Regions from separate parts of the Homo sapiens genome. Here regions 2, 3, 4, 5 and 6 are each linked to region 1. The links are contacts of gene promoters, found by promoter capture Hi-C in human tissues and cell types (Jung and others, 2019). All regions are on one chromosome and are shown on one strand. The core of a region is centred on a gene start or on the middle of the fragment in contact, and the rest is flanking DNA. Distances in the headings are between cores, read along the strand shown. Region 1 holds the start of FAM227B (family with sequence similarity 227 member B). Region 2 overlaps ATP8B4 (ATPase phospholipid transporting 8B4 (putative)). Region 3 overlaps GALK2 (galactokinase 2). Region 4 overlaps ATP8B4 (ATPase phospholipid transporting 8B4 (putative)). Region 5 overlaps FAM227B (family with sequence similarity 227 member B). Region 6 overlaps ATP8B4 (ATPase phospholipid transporting 8B4 (putative)).

Region 1 (3,032 bases), core at 95-2,594:
ATACTGTGAGGAAACCCCGGCCATATAGTTACAGAAGCTCTGCTAGCATGCCCACTCTAGTCTTTCTAATTGAGTTACCAAAGAAAAGCTGATGACTATGCCCTATTGACAACACCACCTGTGAACATAATAAAATGGTTGTTTTAAGCCACCATATTTTGGAGTAATTTATTACATACGATAGCAACCCAATGCTCAATCTAACAAGTAGTATTATTTGCTTTTTAATCTGTGCAATTTAACTACTTTGATAAAATTTAGAGTTAAACTAAAAAGGAAAATGGTTGTGAATTCTTCTTGGCTTATAGACTTTGCTATTCTACTTTCCCTACCCAGAAAATTCACCTTTCTCCCTAAATCACTGGCTTTCAAACTTTTTAAGGTTTGAAATACAGTAAGAAATACATTTTACAAACAAGCCCTAGTGCACACATACACGCATATATACAATTAAAAGCTCCATAAAGCAGTACTTTACTAACTAACACTAAATTTACTTACATGCGCTGATATTTCCAATCTATATTGTTTCTTTTTTTTAAGTTTAAAGAGATTTCCTTGCTTACAAATGGGTCAAGACCTCCACTAATGGGTCCCACACAATCCCCTTTCCAGTTGAAAAACACTGTCCTAAACCTAAATCATTCTTCAAGGCCTTACCCAAGTCCGAAAAAGAAGCCTTTATTGACCACTCCATTCTCAGCTTTCTTGAAATTCCTGTAATTTATTAAATTCCATTTTTTATCTCAGTAGTAAGAATATTGCATTTTCTGTACTTGAATTTAACATGCTTTACTTGATATCGTGAGCACTTCTAGGGCATTGTAATGTCCTTTATCTACCACTTGATAAATTCAGAGTAGTCAATAAAACATTGCTCAACATTTGACCATTGTGTTTTAAAATCTTAGTTGTTAGAGTGCACTTCCGTTTGCGCATTGTTTGGGGAGAGGCACGGACAAATGTTCTAATAACTTATCCACATATTATACTTCAAAGTGGAAAAACACAAAGTACTCTTAACTCTATATGCGTGTTTTTATGCAAACTAAATCATTAAGATACAAATGATTTTTCTAATAGCTTTCATTACCACACAGCACACGAAATAATGATATTGATATAGCCACGAAAGACTAATGTAACCAAGTTCTCACAATCAAAATATCTTTGAGGTGGGCAAAATGCAAACTTTTCTCTGGGATCAACATTTCTTCACAACTCACTGCAACTACGCCTTGACAGTATGTTTCGAGAACCGCTTCCCAATTTTGTTGTCCCAGCAAGAATCGGGAGGAAACTGGGTGAAAGGCTGCGAGGCTTGAGGCGGGTCCCGGACGAACGCGGCCCTGCCCCTCGCCGGAGCCTCTCGGGAGAAGTGCGACACCGCCGCTGATTGAGAGGCTGAGGCGGAACTTCCCGTCTAACCCCCCCCCCGCTGTCGTCCCAGCCTGTTGCTTAAGCCGCGCGGTGTGCGGTGTGCGCGGCCCCTGCCTTAGCAACGACGCTAGTAACTGCCTGGCTCCTCCCTCTGGTGTCTCCCGGAAAGCGCTCCGTCTGGTCCGTGCGCGATCACGGCCCGGCGCGTGGCTCGGGCTCGGGCGGAGCTGGAGACGTGTGGAGCTGTTCGAGGACTCGCGGGTGTGCAGGTCTGAGTACCACTCCGATCCCTGGTGGAGGTCCCCGCGCCTCTCTGGAGACCAGTGGTCTGGCCCCAGAGGTGCGGCCGCGGGAAGTGGACATTCTTTGTCAGGACCCTAGCGGAGGTCGCGCTGGGTGTCGCCTGTGAGGGGGATCCTCGGTTTCTGCGCGGTCTCTTGCTTTTTTTAGGATCTTGCGGGCCCTTTGGGAAAAAGGTTTCCAAATTTTTCCTCAAAAAAAAAATTATTTTTCCTACCAATGATTTTCGGTGCATTCCGCCCCAACGAAAAGTATGTCCTGGCAAAGTCAGTTCCCTAGGAACCCCATACTTTATTTTATTTTATTTTTAGTATTTGGAGTGGTTTGTGGGGGTTTGGTTATCACGGAAGGGGAAGCGTAGTACAGACGTAGAATTAGTGATGCCATGCAGTGTATTTAAAATATTGAGGTTGTGGTTACATAATAAGCAAAAGAGCCTGTTTCTTACGTCTAAATTATTTATTGGGAATGTAGGACAAATAAGGAAGTATATTAACATTTTCAGTCGCCAGGCCCACAAAGTTGGATGGTAAAATCAATACTGTAGATCGCAGCATGTAAGGACTAACCCAGTGCACCATGAAAACGAAGGCAAGACAGTTTGTTACCATATGGCGGGTGGTGTGGGAGAGGCCATTGATCCTATATGAAAAAGGGTACTACTACCTTGGATTATGAAAAATGAATGTTGGACCTGTAGGTCCTATGTGACCAAGTTCTTAAAAACACTCTAAAGAAAATTGGAAGTGGTTTTTTTCTAATACTGAATTGGTCCACAATATAGGACAGGGGAGTCTGTATAGTGTTCCATTGGGAGGTGAGTCAGCTTACAATAATGGAAGAGGTAGAAGCTTTTTGTTATTATTTTGGAGAAAAAAAAATTGCCAGCCTGCCACTTGTGCTAGGCTGCAGACGGCCCATAAAGGTAGTTTGTCAGATACTTCAGTAGTGAGATGCTTACTGGATGTGTTTTGCAGAATGGTTTTGATTTAGTTAACAAGTGTTTGTTGAGTTCCTGCTGTTGCATAAGAATCAGGAATAGGTGAGATCAGGGAAGGAATCTGCTCTTACAGAGTTGAATGCTGGAGGGGATAGATTCACTAAAGTACCTCCACAATAAATGCATTTTTCCATGTCAAATATGTGGAACTAATAATAAGTACTCAAAGAGGTTTAAGACATTGCTGTGGCCCATCTATGAGTTAATAAGGAACTGAATTAGAATCCTGACTTTGAGAGTGAAGATAGAGGATTATATACAAGGTAGATGCAACTTGGTGAGTATAATTAATTTGGGGTGGAAATTGGGTAGAAGGAGGAATAAAAAATTAATGTATTTTTAGCCTTAAGTT
Region 2 (2,898 bases), core at 131-2,630, 330 kb after region 1:
AAAGCAATTAAAGACACAAATAAATGAATATGTATCCAATGGTCATGGAGTAGAAGACTTAATATTGTTAAAATCTCCATATTGCCCAAAGTGAACCATAGAAATCCCCATCAAAATTTCAATGGTATTTTTTTACAGAAGTATAAAAAAAATTCTAAAATTGATATGGAACCACAAATGACCCCAGATAGCCAAAACTATCTTGAGGAAGAAGGACCAAGCTGGGGTCCTCACAATTCCTGATTTCAAACATGTTACAAGCTACAGTCATCAAAGCAGTGGGGTACTGGTATCCCCAGTAAAGACAGACACAGACCAGTGGAATAGAATAGAGAACACAGAAATAAACCCACACATAAACAGATGAATGAATTTCAACAAGGGTTCCAAGACTATACAGCAGGGAAAGGATAGTCTTTTCAACAGAGTGAGGAAAACTAGATATGCACAGGCAAAAGAAAAAAATGGACCATTATCTTACATCTAACACAAAAATCAAATTAAAATACATTGAAAATTGAAACATAATCCCTGCAACTATAAAACTCCTAGAAGAAAATATGGAAGAAAAGCTTCATAACAATGGTCTCGACAATGACTTCTTGCATAGACATGACAACAAAAGCACAGACAATGAAAGCAAAAACAAATAAGTGGAACTATATCAAATGTAAAAGTCTCTGCTCAGGACTGGGCGCAATGGCTTATGCCTGTAATCCCAGCACTTTGGGAGGTCGAGGCGGCAGATCAGGAGGTCAGGAGTTCGAGACCAGCCTGGCCAGCATGGTGAAACCCTGTCTCTACTAAAAATACAAAAAAAAAAAAAAAAAATCAGCCAGGCATGGTGGCACTCGCCTGTAGTCCCAGCTACTTGGGAGGCTGAGGCAGGAGAATTGTTTGAACCTGGCAGATGGAGGTTGCAGTGAGCCAAGATTGTGCCACTGCACTCCAGCCTGGGTGACAGAGTGAGACTCTGTCTCAAAAAAAAGACTGCTCAGCAAAGGAAATAATCAACAGAGTGAAAAGGCAACTTATGGAATAGGAGGAAATATGTGCAGATCATATATCTGATAAGGGGTTACTAGCCTGTTGAGCTTTTTTTCATATGTTTGTTAGCCATGTAAATGTCTTCTTTTGAGAAGTGTCTGTTCATATACTTTGCCGACTTTTTGATGGAGTTGTCTTTTTCTTGCAAATATGTTTACGTTCCTTGTAAATTATGGATATTAGACCTTTGTCAGATGGGTAGATTGCAAAATTTTTCTCCCATTCTGTAGGTAGCCTGTTCACTCTGATGATAGTTTCTTTTGCTGTGCAGAAGCTCTTTAGTTTAATTACATCCCATCAGTCAATTTTGGATTTTGTTGCAATTCCTTTTGGCATTTTTGTAATGAAGTCTTTGCCCATGTCTATGTCTTGAATGGTATTGCCTAGGTTTTCTTCTGCTGAATAGAAGATCCTTTCCCTATTGCTTGTTTTTGTCAGGTTCGTCGAAGATCAGATGGTTGTAAATGTGTGGTCTTATTTGTGAGGTGTCTGTTCTGCCCCATTAGTCTATATGTTTGTTTTGGTACTGGTATTGTGCTGTTTTGGTTATGGTAGCCTGGTAGTATAGTTTGAAGTCAGGTAGCATGATGCCTCCAGCCTTGTTATTTTTGCTTAGGATTGTCTTGGCTATACAGGGTCTTCTTCGATTCCATATGAAATTTAACATAGCTTTTTCTAATTCTGTGAAGAATGACAATGGTAGTTTGATGGGAATAGCATTGAATCTATAAATTACTTTGGGCAGTATGGCCATTTTCATGATATTGATTCTTCCTATCCATGAGCATGGAATGTTTTCCCATTTGTTTGTGTTCTCTCTTATGTCCTTGAGCAGTGGTTTGTAGTTCTCCTTGAAGAAGTCCTTCACATCCTTTGTTTGCTGTATTCCTTGGTATTTTATTCTCTTCGTAGTGATTGTGAATGCGAGTTCATTCATGATTTGGCTCTCTGCTTGCCTATTGTTGGTGTAAAGGAATGTTTGTGATTTCTGCACATTGATTTTGTATCCTGAGACTTTGCTGAAGTTGCTTATCAGTTCAAGAAGTTTTTGTGCTGAGACGATGGGGTTTTCTAAATATAAAATCATATCGTATGCCAACAAAGACAATTTGACTTCCTCTCTTCCTATTTGAATACCCTTTATTTCTTTCTCTTGCCTGACTACCCTGGCCAGAACTTTCAATATTATGTTGAATGGGAATGGTGAGAGAGGGCATCTTGCACTGGTTTTCAAAGGGAATGCTTCCAGCTTTTGCCCATTCAATATGATATTGGTTGTGGGTTTGTCATAAATAGCTATTATTTTGAGATATGTCCCATCAATACCTAGCTTATCGAGAGTTTTTAACATTAAGGGATGTTAAAGTTTATCAAAGGCCTTTTCTGCATCTATTGAGAAAATCATGTGATTTTTGTCTTTGGTTCTGTTTATGTGATGGATTATGTTTATTGATTTGCATATGTTGAACCAGCCTTGCATCCCAGGGATGAAGCTGACTTGATCATGGTGGATAAGTTTTTTGATGTGCTGGTGGATTCAGTTTGCCAGTATTTTATTGAAGATTTTTGCATCGATATTCATCAGGGATATTGGCCTGAAGTTTTCTTTTTTTGTTGTGTCTCTTCCTGGTTTTGGTATCAGGATGATGCTGGCTTCATAAAATGAGTATGGAGGAGTCCCTCCTTTTCAATTGTTTGAAATAGTTTCAGAAGGAATGGTACCAGCTCCTCCTTGTATTTCTGGTACAATTCAGCTGTGAATCTGTCTGGTCCTGGGCTTTTTTTGGTTGGTAGGCTATTAATTACTGCCTCAATTTCAGAGCTTGTTATTGGTCTACTCAAGGATTCAAC
Region 3 (3,052 bases), core at 401-2,900, 320 kb before region 1:
CATCTAGAAGCTTGCTTTATTTAAGGAACAACTCAACTTGGCCATAATATGCATAAGCTGTTGTGTTCTAGAAGAGCCATGAGAAGTGCTATGGAATTTTCACGTTTAATAAAAATGCAGTTCTCATAGATTATCTTGGTTAAGTCTAAGAAGATTAGTTTGTTTTTATCTAATAAAAAGTATAAAGGTGCTTTACAATGTAAAAAGGGTCAGTTGTTTAGTAATTTAAATGTCCAGTTGAGGGTTCTCAATTATGAAGGAAATTGATTTAAATGTAGCTTATAAGATATCAAGCACTAAACTCTGTGATCTCAACAGATTCCATTGTTCTTCTTGTAAATGTTTTGGAAGAAAAGTTTTCCATAGAAAGCTAGACGAAACTCCAAAGGAAGTTTTAGACCCTTCTAGAGTTTACAGATGTTGGTTGAACAGAAATCCTTAAAATCTGTGAGATGGACTTCTAATGAGAAAGCCAATAAAATGGGTCCTTTGGTTTTGTCTATTGTTTTTGTTTTTATGAGAAAAATAATAGACTGTTGTAAAACAAAGTATAAAAGAATAAATCAAATAATAATGATTTTTCTTTCACACAAAAGATATTATTCTTTAAGTTGTTTTGGAAGTCAAGTTTGCAGAAAATTTGCTTTCATTAGTCCTTTTTTCTTTCTCTCTCTGCCTGGTCACTTCCTTTTGCCCATCAGCTTCTATTGACTTCTCAGTTGTCTGGCTGTGGAGGACAGGTTCATGCCAGGAATAAAGGTTCCTACCTTGTTTCCTAGGGAAAAAAAATGGGCTTACCTGATATCGCAGATAACCAGGAAATTCCACTTCCTCTTTCAGATGTGTGCGTGATATGTCCCTATTCATTGGTTCACCTTCCCCCTTCAAAACTAAAAATGAATGTGAACATACCTTATTAAGTAGGATTTTTAAAGGCACGGCATCATAAAACTTGCAACTTCTGTAGGAAGAGCCTAGGACATGTGTTGGAATCACACCAGTGATTTGTGTTGTGTGTTGGTCAGCTTCTCAGCCGCTGGTAGGTAGGTCAGTACTCACAGTGTGACTCTTGTCCCACAAGGCTAATGGTGACCATGGTTCTGGCTTCTGAGGCCAGCAGAGAAGTAACAATGTGCATGAACTGCCGTGGCACCAGCTGCTCCTATGTAGACCTTTGAAGCATGAAAAATACATGTCTCTCATCATTCTTAGTATATTTACTTATTTGCTCATTTTCCCTGTATGTACCTGGTTTCCTGACCCTGCCAACTATCTTCTTCACTCCAGCTGCCTCCTTGGCCTTGGCATCACTGGCCTCCTTGGTCTCCTCAGCTCTGACCACCACCTTGGTCCAGCCTTGCAGGCCTCTTTGTTTCTGACCCTGTAGTTCCTGTACATCTCCTCAGCCCCAGCTGCTTCTTTGGCTCTAGCCTTGCTGGTCTTCTCATTTGTGGCTGCCTCAAGGGGAAGGAAGGGAAGAAAAGGAAAGGAAAATGTATAATTTCTAAACTTGTAAATATATGTATTTAAGTCTAAGGAAATGTTACTCAGTATTCCCTTTGCTTAAATTTATCATGGATGTATCTCTGTCTTTCAGGAGTGAAATTATCAAAGGATCAGCTGTGAAGTTATTAGATACTATGTTTTGAGTAGAATGAGGCTTCTGCAGATATAAGGACATCTCATTGTCTCCTCTGTCACTCCTCTGCTGGTTTGGAAACATCTATAGGAAAGCATCTTCTATAGTCATCATCAACCTAAGAGGCCAACATCTTGCCATCCTATTTTCCTTTTTTGCTACTTATGCTTTCATTTTTACATTTTGTAGGTTTCCACATAAGTAAGTGTTCTCTTTGTATACAAAGCAGCTTTTCTTATGGTGAAATTCATTTATTTTGGTCAAAGTGATTGTCCTGTACTGGTAAGCTCAAACTGATTGTGCTTCAGTAACAAACAATTTCAAAGTCTCAGTGGCTTGACCAAGCAAAAGTTTATTTCTTACTCACTCTTTATATCTAACATAAGTCAGCAAAAGAGTTTGTTCATCTAAGACACTTATGGAGCTGGGCTCAGAGGGCTCCATCTCAACACGTTTGTCCACAATCATGGCAGGAGGAAGGTAATGTTGTTAATTGCTCTCTGGCTCTTAACATCTGCCAGAGTGACTGGCATCACCCCTATGCTCATTCGATTGGCCAAAGCCAGTCAGATGGATGTGATGAACTTCAGTGAGGGTGAGGTAGTACAGTCTTAATATGTGTGAGGATAGCTGGAATATTTGGAAGCAGCCTAATGACAACTGTACTTTCCCATGTTGAGTGGCTATGAGTCTCATCCCATCAAATCTTGGTGATACCAATGAGAACCAATTTACTTTCTCATATACAAATACGAAGTTGACATTTTTTCCAAACATCTGGGACAATGAATATTGCTCTTGATCAAATTTCAAGTTATTTTCATTTAAGAATTAGACAGACATACTGTGATCTCTTTTTATGTTACACATTTCTCTCATACTGGCATTTTATCTGCACATGATCTGGTGAAAGCTTACTTGGTAATGATGGCTTGTCACTTTCTTCCCTGTCTTGCAGAGTTCATGGTCTCTTTTCAGGAGCCAGTCATTCTAATATCCTAGTTCAAGAAAACATCTTCTTCTGTTTATTAGTTGTTCAATTTCTGTAGTCCTTTTTCAAAGTACTTAGCTTCAGGTGGAAGAAAGTTTCCTAATAATTTCTAAATTAGAAATTGTATGCTATTTTCTACCTACTGTGCCATTTGTTTCCAGGAGAGTCAGCTGAGGCGAGTAACTGTGGATGGATCTAGTGCCTTTTTGCAGGTTATTGCCAAATATTAATAGTAATGACAACAAAAATAATGACCTATTGTATGTGTATAGACACTAACAGTTTAACCATATGAGATCTCATTTGATCATCATTCATGTGGCAGGTTTCAGACGAAAATATGACAGGCCACCACTCTATATTCAGGGTAGAGACGCTCCATAGTTTTTTAGAAAATGTTTGAGGAAGATGGTTTCTTGTTT
Region 4 (3,189 bases), core at 81-2,580, 290 kb after region 1:
CATCATTAGTCTGAATTTCAGCAATCTGGAATTTCACTAATTGGACTTTTGGAAAAAGAAGGGGGGGATTTCTTTAAGTATCAAAAGAATAAACTTTAAATGAGTCAAGGCATTAAAATGATGACAAAAGGAGCAGAGTAGGAAGAAATTACTTTCCTTCATTTCCCATCCCAGCCTAGGGAAAGGGGACTTTGAGGAGTTTAGAAACTGATAAGTGATGGCTAAAAAAAGCCGGGGTCCTGACCCGCCCCTGGATTGGTAGTGGATGAAGGAACCATGTGGCTAATGGAATCCTCAGATAAATTTAGGGGAATCAGCAGAGTAAAGGGATTTTAGAAACTGAAGTGGCCATATAAGAACACAAGTCATCTTGGGCATAGAGAGGTGAGGAAGAGCAGCCACACTTTCCATGGTTCCCCAGCAGAGTGTGGAAGTCAGCCAAGAGGGAAAGCCAACAACAACCCTAAGAGAGCAGAGACCAGACAGGAACACAGACGTGGGAAGTGCTGGATGCCAGCAGGGTAGACACTGATGAACAGTAACAGGTGAGGCAATTGTACATCCCAGACTTGAACTAAATTTAACTGAAAATGCCTAGTTTAATTGTTCTGTCCTCAGACAGAAAGAGGTTCAAGTTCAGTTTTAGAAAATTTAATGAGTTTCTATTCTTGCATGCCTGAGCACACTCTGGGCTGTGAAACCTAGCAGTGACAAAGCCTCCTACTATTTCTCTTCACATCCAATCAAATTACAAGACCTATTCATTCTACCTCCAAAAAGCTGTCTATTTTATTCTACCCTTTCCTTCCCCACTGTTTCAGGCCTGCTGCCCTTATTGGGGAAATAGTTACAAAAGTAGTCCTTGTTGGTGGAAAGATTGGGATCAGTGGCTGAAAGAATGAAGGAAGGGAGAAGGGAGGAAATAGACAAGGAATGAGGAAGGCAAGAAAGATGCGCATGGAACAGTCATAAAGCTTTAAGTTCTTATCTAATCCCCCAAATAAAATAAGATATAGAGTAGATATTTGTATCCCCATTTTACAAATAAGGAAACCAAGCAAACAGAGGTTATTCCCATATCAAAAGTTTCCCACTCAGCCTAAGCATGAAGCTGAGATTCCAACTTGAATCCAGCTGACATGAAGCCCATACTCTTTCTCCTACATCTGCTATTTCCCCTGGAAATTTCTGCTGACTCTACTTGCTAATCTGGTGTCTGACCATTTACTCAAGTGAAGCAGTAAGATACCTTAACAACTATATTTTTAGGTTAATTATTAAAGGGAATAAAAATAAATCTGAGGTATGTTTAGGGAAACACATGGCAAGTGCACAGCCTCTGGGACCAAGCTGCCTAGATTCACATCCCACCTGAACCACGGACTACTTTGGGCAAGTTACTTACCCTCTATATACTTCGACTTCCTCATATGTCCAACAGGGAAAACAGTAATGCCTACGATTGAGTTTCTTAAGAACAAAATGAGGTAATACATGTGTACTGCCTACAATACTCTTCCAGGCACTGTCTCAAAACATTTAGCAACAGGCTTATTAAAATCTAGATCTGTTTGCATCTATCTTCCTTCAGCAAGAGTCAAGTTCTGAATGAGAGTGGTCCTTCAAGATGTACGACTAAAGGCATCTGGCAGTTGCCTCCTCCACAAAGAAGCACCAAGATAGAGAGTAGATAATCATACTTCAAATATGTCATCTAAGAGAAAATATTGGAGTTCAAGAGAGAAGTGACAGGAAACACCTAAAAGAAGAAGAGGGAAACAAGGCATCCTGTCTGGCTGGGAGCCCAGAAAGGCTCTCCTGTGTAGGGAAAGTATAAGTGAGGGATGCCCAGTGGTCCACAATCTCACCACAGACTCCACTCCTAGCCATAGGAGAGCCTCTCAACCCTTTCAGACCCTGAAATTAACATAGGGAGCTGCCTGAAGACAAGGCAGTGCCATTGCCCCAGAGAGGGAGCTCACACTGGGTCCCACATACCACAAAATGACAGCAAAGTGTCATTTTGAGAGCCCAGCCCCACCAGACTGCATCCTGCCTGAGGGCCCAACAGTACTTGGCTTTCCACATTCCTGGAGCTCCACTGACATTCCCCACCTGCAGCCACCACCACTGCCACCACTGCCACCATGGCCAAAGTGCAAGACGCTGACAGCAACCCCACTACCCTTCCAGCAACAGGACTTCCTCACATTTCCACATGCCCTAAGGATAGGCTACCTTACATATAGCTGCCACCTACAGCCAAAGCACACACTTCCCAGCCACCTGCCTAAGGCTGCTACTACTAAAAGCAATCCCACTCACCCCAGCAGCCAGCACGGCCAGAGTGCAGCTACTGCCACCCCCACCTGAGCATTCCACCAGAGGCCTTGGGATAACCCTGTCCCTGCCACCACAGCCAGCACCCATACATACCACTGGACAGCGGGGAGAAGGGGAACATACAGACAGGTCTGTCCAGTCTGGCTTTGACCGCACTCCATACCCCCCACCCCAGTACTTGAGCATACCACCTAGGGGCCTGGGGATCACCCTGCTCCATCCACCATCCACTGCCGTGGCTCCATCCACCATCATGACCACTCCTCCCAGAGACTGGAAGACAGACTAACCCAGCCTGCCACTACCACCACAGCTAGCACCCACCTGCACTTACCACCCGTGGACCTGGGGAATGGCCTGACCAGCCTGTCACAGCCACTGCCAACACCAGCATAGGCTATTTGGGAGCCAGAGAGTTGTCCAACCACTGCTACTGCCATTGCCTATGCCATGCCTGCAGCCCAGGGGCCCAAGGTCCAGCCCACTGTTTCTACTGCTGTCACCTGAGCAAGCCTCCTGGTGGCCCAAGAATCATCCCACCAGGACACACTAATGCCAGTGCCAAATGTGCTACCCTTGGACCCAAAGACAGGCAGGCTCAGCCTACCACTGCTCCCACTGGGGCCCAAGGACTGTCCCACCTGCTGTCCCCATGCCCAATAAAACTTCACTACAGTCTCCATTAACAACCACACCCTAAGCCACTGAGGAAGTCACAGACACCATTGGCTTTGTTTACCAAAAAAAAAAAAAAAAAAAAAAAAGAAAGCCAAATAAATTATATGGAGACTATACTACTGCACACATCCAGAATCAAAGCCAAAGTGCCCTACCCAACCAATACCA
Region 5 (3,030 bases), core at 290-2,789, 270 kb before region 1:
ATTATGTTTTATTTCTTATAAATTATTAATTTTGAACATATGACTTTATTGAAATGAACTGGGTAGACATACGTTCCTCATAAAGTCATTCTAATTGTAAAATTTGGTCATGGTTGTACATTTGTGCTGTATAATGAAGTGCTGGGCTGCATGATGTTGGTGTTGACTGAAATCTTAGCATTTTCTTGTACAACTCAGTGGTGATGGTTTTCAGTAGATTTCTGTTGAAGTGTGTTAATGAATATCTTAACTTTTATTCTTTTTAGACACTTATAACTATAAATTTTTTCCGAATTAGATAAAACAGAATACTTAGACCATATACATTATGAACAATGGTTATATTCTACTCCTTGGGGATGAATGTGGCAACATGTTTTTCAATTCCACCATCTGAATTGGCCTCATACTTTATATTCCCATGCACTGCTATATGGTAAGCCACTGAATGGAAGATTCACTTGGGGACAAATAAAATAGTCCTTTTCTGGGACTTCACAACAGTGGTTGGGATGTAACAAACTAAGACCTTCTCAACTCAGGACTCTGGGGTCTTTCATCTCCCTTTATAATCACAGAATATTAGAGAAACAAAGGGTTTTGGAAATTGTAGGATCCAATTTAATTAGATTAGAAATGAAGAAACTGAAGCTTCTAGAAGTGAAGTACCTTGCCTTTGAGAGATTGAGTGTGTGTGAGAGACTCAGGAAAAGAATGGCCCAGGGGCAAATTTCGTACTTATCTGCCAAAAGTATTGTCCTAGAATTGAAACCAAGAGGTTAATTTGATCAGGTCTGCCTGCCCTGCTTGCTTTTGGTCACTTGCTTTTGTTATTTTTTTTTTTTTTCCTTTTTCCATGAAGCTGAAAGCCATGCTGCTGAACACGAAACTTAACCTTTACTGGCTGCTTGATAGATACCATCCATAGTTCACCAAAACAACACTTCCGTTGTTTTTCAGAAACTTGGGCCAGCTCCTGTCCAATTCAAACTGGTTGAGACCACCAGCCCTTGAGCTGGGCCTGCGCAAGTGCGCAACAAATGGCCTTTTGACCATGGAGGGCCAAAAACTCTACCCTCAGGTTGTGCTAACACGATTTTCTATACATATGTCCTACAAAATGCTATGAAGCCTGACTATGCTTGCACAGAATGAACCTGTTACTTCATTTTCCCCATTGCCAATCACCTTTCCCCACACCTAAGGCCACCCCCATTTCCCTAACCCAAAAATATCCCTAAGCCTTATTTTAGGGGAAGTAGATGTGAGAGCTGTTCTCCTGCCTCCTTGCTTGGCAGCTTTGCCAATAAATCTTTTCTCTTTTGCAAAACCTGTGTCACAGTGATTGATTCACTGTGCATGGGCAGAACAGACCTGGACCTCGGTGATAACAGAATGAAGCTTCAGGAGGCTTTGCTGTCTATCTTGTATCCCTTAGAGATAGTCTTTGGATTATCCTCAGAGTTGTTTCTGAGCATCTCAGGCTTAAGGCGAAAGTGCCCATTATACACATAATGCTAATTGTATAACAAGTAAAAGGAAGCTAGGCAGCAAGCTGTGGCCAGAATCTCCTACTTTATACACTAGAATGCACTTAGTTCTTAATCCTAAAAACTACATTCTTGAAATAAGCTTATTAGCATGTGGCCTAAACTGATCTTAGAGCAGTTATATTCTGTTTAATGTTTACCTTTGCCTATAAGTAAAATATTTTAATGTTAGATTTGTAGTTTACCCAACATCCATGTATCAAAAACATTTTTTAAAAGGTTATAAGCACATGTGACTTACTCTATAGGAAATAACATCATTGTTGGAATCTTACCCAGATTCTAAATGGCCTAGAATTATATGTAAAATAGGATTGCAGTTCTAGTAAGTTTCACTATTTAATACATCATTATCAGCAGTTTTGTAGTATACTCAGGAAATTGAGGGAAGGGCTATTGAAAACATTAACACTTATTCAAGTAAAATAATTCAACAAAATTGCCAGGACTTGTATTAGGCATGGAGACACAAAAATAAGTAGAGACATGGTGTTTTGCCCTTAAGAAATTAGTAAGAATAAGAAGTGACAACATTTTTGAAGTAGGAGACAGAAGAACTATAAAATTTAGGAATAAAGACTGTAACAGCTTAGTGATCTATGCTTTTAGTGCAGGGTTGTTTAAAAGTAGATGAAGGTGCTTCTCCTTTCTACTATAGCATTCTATGTATAGGACAGATTATTGATGACCCTATTTCCCTGTCTTTGCTATTAGATTGCTTAGCACCCTCATACTAGTATCAGTGCTGGTATGTAACAGGTATTTGGTAAAACAAACAGTAAATGTTTACTGTTCTTTGCATACTGAACGAGTATTCTTATTGGTATCTAGGTGCAGTTGAGTTATAGATTTCATCCTGAGAAGCTTAGTTATTATCATAAAGTTAATTAGTTTTTGCTACTTTGTTAAAGAAGTCAGAGAAGTATTGATAACCTTCAATGAAAACTTCCATTAAAATGGATAACATTGGCCAGGCATGGTGGCTCACGCCAGTAATCTCAACACTTTGGGAGGCTAAGGTGGGTGGATCACCTGAGGTCAGGAGTTCAAGACCAGCCTGGCCAACATGGTGAAACCCCGTCTCTACTAAAAATATACAAATTAGCTGGGCGTGGTGGCAGATGCCTGTAGTCCCAGCTACTCGGGAGGCTGAGGCAGGAGAATTGTTTGATCTTGGGAGGTGGAGGCTGCAGTGAGCTGAGATTGCACCATTGCACTCCAGCCTGGGTGACAAGAGCAAAACTCTGTCTCAAAAAAAAAAAAAAAAAAAAAAAGGCTAACATAAAAAGTGTTAGTGCTTCAAATGATCAGCTTTAGTTATCTGGAAAATTTAATTATGGGCCACAGATCACTCCCTGATAAGGCTGGATAAACAAGTTGTTGATTTACAGAAATTCCAGCATTTTTATAATTTATGTCCTTTAACAGAGACAGCTCCAAGGGTTGCTTTGAAGGACTTTGGCTATTCCCATTATTTTCA
Region 6 (2,892 bases), core at 153-2,652, 310 kb after region 1:
TAATTGCCAGAACTCATGTGGGTTTTCTTGTACTCTAGCTCTAACCCCTACATTGGGGAAAAAGAAAGAGAAAAACATATGCAATTTATCTAATTGTTAAACCAGGGGGGGAAACTTAATCCTAGGAAAGACTCTCTCTTGATTTTCTTGTACAATAATCCAATTGAATAATTTCCCTTATATTTTCTCCCTTCCAACACCAGAGGTATAAAGGCAAACGATGAATAACCTACATTTGCCTGTATTTTGTATTCTAGACTAGGACATTAGTTCTCTAACTTATGGTCTCAGGACCTTCTTTATAATTTTTCAATGCTGAGTGAGGATTCTAAAAAGTTTTTTTAAGTGAATGTTATCTATCAATATCCATATTAGAAATTAAAAATGAGAAATTTTATTATATCAGTTTTATAACACTAGTTACTATAATTATTATTATTGTAAATCTAACATATAAGCATAAATAACATTTCTATAAAAAAACTATATTTTCCAAAAAATATTAGTTTGGAGATTGGCATTATTTTACATGATTACAGATCTTTGTAACATCTAGTTTAATAAAAGAGGGTTGGATTCCCATATCTGTTTCTGCATTCATTCTGTTGTGACATCACATGTCACGTGGCTTCTGCAAAACTCCATGGTATACTCATGAGAAAAAGAATGAAAAAGATAAATAATAGTGATATTATAATGAAAATACTTTTGTCCTTGTGCATCCTCTGAAAAACTCACAAAGTTCCCTAAGGTTCCCTGGACCACACATTTAGAATCACTGGTCTGGAAGAATCACAAACTGATTGTGATTTGTGTAAATCCCTTACCATCACTGTATCTTAGTTTCTACATGTAAAAAGGAGATGTTTAAACAATCTAACTTCAAAGGTCCTTTGCAGCAGTACAATTTTCTGATTCAATAAATACTTTCCATCCCTGATACTTTCCCTTAACCTAGTATTTGTCCCTTTAAATTTGATTTTGTGGAAATCCAATTTCATGGAATCCTGCTTATGTTTACTCATTAAACATTTGCTTTAGCAGCAAGTTTTATATCTCTTTTCTTCCAAGCCTTCTGGTCGTTTCTGTTCAAAGTTAATAAAATCTAAGTCATTTCAGAAGTTAGTATTTCTTAAATAAACTAAAAAGGACATAGTTTTAAATGGTCACGATAACATATGGCCAGAACTTGGACAAAGGTTACAGTTTTTAGGTTATAAAATCTTCTCCCAATGCTTTCCATTTAAATATTAGTGTTCTTCAGAGATTTACTTGGGGTCTTTTTTTTATCTTCCCATCCTTCATACTGTCCCTGGGCAACTGCATCATTTCTATGGCTTCAGGTTCCAACACCAGGCTGTTTTCAAATGTGTATCTCCTGTCCAATCCATCTCTAGCACTCCATTCTGACCTGCACATCCGACTACCAGTTGAAAATCTCTTGGATATGCTCAAGCACACCAAACTCATACTGGACATATTACCCTCCTCCAATAATTAGCTACTCCTCTTATATCCCCAGTCTTAGTAATCAGCTTCACCATCCATTCAGTCTCCCAAATCAGAAATCTAGGCATCACTCACAGTTCTCCCTTCACCAACCATACATCTAAGGGAAGCTACGGATTTCTCTTGCCACTTCTCTCTTGCCTAGAAAATCACTTTAACCTAACTGGTTTTACCCATTCCAGTACTGCTTCCTTCCAGACTCTTCTGTATATTCCAGTTACAGTCATCTTCATGCTGCTGCTTAGAATCCTGCAATAGCTTCCCTCTCCCTTCTATTAAGTTTGGACTCCTTGACATGACATATAGAGCTTATTAACAGCTGCACTATCCAGTCTGTTTTACCATGTTCTCTTGGAGGCAGCCACATAGAACTACCTTTCAACTTTTCACATTCTCCCTTAGCTTGAAGGCCCTGGAACATATGGGGAACTTAAATCAATATTTACTTAATTAAGATGAACCAAAATTGTGCACAATTTATTGAAAGCAGAAGCTATGCCTTTGTGACATAAAGGAAAGAAAAAATGTCACAAATGGCTTCCAGTTAGATGCAACAGCAGCACTGTGAAGGGTGGTAAATAATTCTATTTTGCCATATCGCCGCTGTTCATACATCTACACAGAGAAATGCCTGTCACATGACAGTGTGATTTGTACTTTGATAATCTTGAAAAAGTTTAGAGTTGAGCAACTTTTATCTAAAGATCTCGTAAGAGCCTTCCAAGAAGCTTCTTGTAATTTCTTCTTCTTTAATGGTTATCTGCCACTTGCCCCTGTTAATAGCCACCTCTGAATTTTATCTCTGTATTTCTATTTACAGAATTAGTAGAATTGGTCCTTCCAAAACTATATAATGTCATTTATATTTTTTACTAATATAGTATATTCTGTTCCCTCTGGAAAAAAATCCTTTATAGAAATCAATTTTTATGTAGATACTTCTGACTTAAATCAGGGCTCTTTCTTCAGAATGAAAGTACTACTGGTATTGAAATTATACATTGATGATTTAGTGAATAATGGCTGCCACCCAAAAACAAGGAAGCAGAAGAGGGAGGAGGAGAAAGGGGAGGATCAGCAGCAACAGAAGCAATGCCTGAGCCTTTGCATCAGGGTGTTGTTCCTACAGACCAACCCATGTGACGATCATGAGACCAGGATTGTTTTCTGCCTTGTTATCATGCAAAGACTTTTCTGCCCTGGTAGAGTCCCTCTAAAAATCCTCCTGATTAAAAACCAAGCAGAATAAAAATAAATCCAGCAAACCTTCATGCATTCTGTGGTAGAGCACTACCTTTCCTCATATGGGATCCATTAAGGCAAACATCTGATGTTTGTGGTTAGGCTGCAATTTCTCCACAGCCTGTAATGGTGACCAATGCT

What was found. The method cuts DNA at HindIII sites, captures the fragments that hold promoters and counts their contacts. A contact is called where the count stands out against the background at its distance.
Region 2: a fragment that was not itself captured here is called in contact with the fragment with the promoter of FAM227B in region 1 in 2 of the 25 tissues and cell types used here (IMR-90 fibroblasts and lymphoblastoid cells).
Region 3: a contact is called between a fragment that was not itself captured here and the fragment with the promoter of FAM227B in region 1, in 1 of the 25 tissues and cell types used here (mesenchymal stem cells).
Region 4: a fragment that was not itself captured here is called in contact with the fragment with the promoter of FAM227B in region 1 in 1 of the 25 tissues and cell types used here (mesenchymal stem cells).
Region 5: a fragment that was not itself captured here is called in contact with the fragment with the promoter of FAM227B in region 1 in 5 of the 25 tissues and cell types used here (H1 embryonic stem cells, bladder, mesenchymal stem cells and 2 more).
Region 6: a fragment that was not itself captured here is called in contact with the fragment with the promoter of FAM227B in region 1 in 2 of the 25 tissues and cell types used here (dorsolateral prefrontal cortex and mesenchymal stem cells).

What each region holds. Positions count from the first base shown.
Region 1 is chr15:49,619,474-49,622,505 of GRCh38, forward strand. It overlaps FAM227B (family with sequence similarity 227 member B), which reads right to left and starts at 1,345. Exons shown (of 16, transcript NM_152647.3): 1 at 1,227-1,345. DTWD1 (DTW motif tRNA-uridine aminocarboxypropyltransferase 1) reads left to right here and starts at 1,575. Exons shown (of 5, transcript NM_001144955.2): 1 at 1,575-1,649. RefSeq lists an enhancer at 1,687-1,806. The HindIII fragment of the contact is 10,713 bases long and covers 1-2,995 here.
Region 2 is chr15:49,947,469-49,950,366 of GRCh38, forward strand. The region is part of intron 14 of ATP8B4 (ATPase phospholipid transporting 8B4 (putative)); the gene reads right to left. Among named protein-coding and RNA genes, the nearest start is that of ATP8B4, 170 kb to the right of the region's middle. The HindIII fragment of the contact is 8,482 bases long and covers 1-2,898 here.
Region 3 is chr15:49,302,374-49,305,425 of GRCh38, forward strand. The region is part of intron 8 of GALK2 (galactokinase 2); the gene reads left to right. Among named protein-coding and RNA genes, the nearest start is that of FGF7, 120 kb to the right of the region's middle. The HindIII fragment of the contact is 4,481 bases long and covers 1-3,052 here.
Region 4 is chr15:49,906,640-49,909,828 of GRCh38, forward strand. All of the region lies in intron 20 of ATP8B4 (ATPase phospholipid transporting 8B4 (putative)), which reads right to left. Among named protein-coding and RNA genes, the nearest start is that of ATP8B4, 210 kb to the right of the region's middle. RefSeq lists an enhancer at 2,537-3,037. The HindIII fragment of the contact is 6,171 bases long and covers 1-3,189 here.
Region 5 is chr15:49,345,219-49,348,248 of GRCh38, forward strand. The region is part of intron 13 of FAM227B (family with sequence similarity 227 member B); the gene reads right to left. It also overlaps a transcript of GALK2 not described here. Among named protein-coding and RNA genes, the nearest start is that of FGF7, 77 kb to the right of the region's middle. The HindIII fragment of the contact is 4,860 bases long and covers 1-3,030 here.
Region 6 is chr15:49,924,761-49,927,652 of GRCh38, forward strand. The region is part of intron 16 of ATP8B4 (ATPase phospholipid transporting 8B4 (putative)); the gene reads right to left. Among named protein-coding and RNA genes, the nearest start is that of ATP8B4, 190 kb to the right of the region's middle. The HindIII fragment of the contact is 3,396 bases long and covers 1-2,892 here.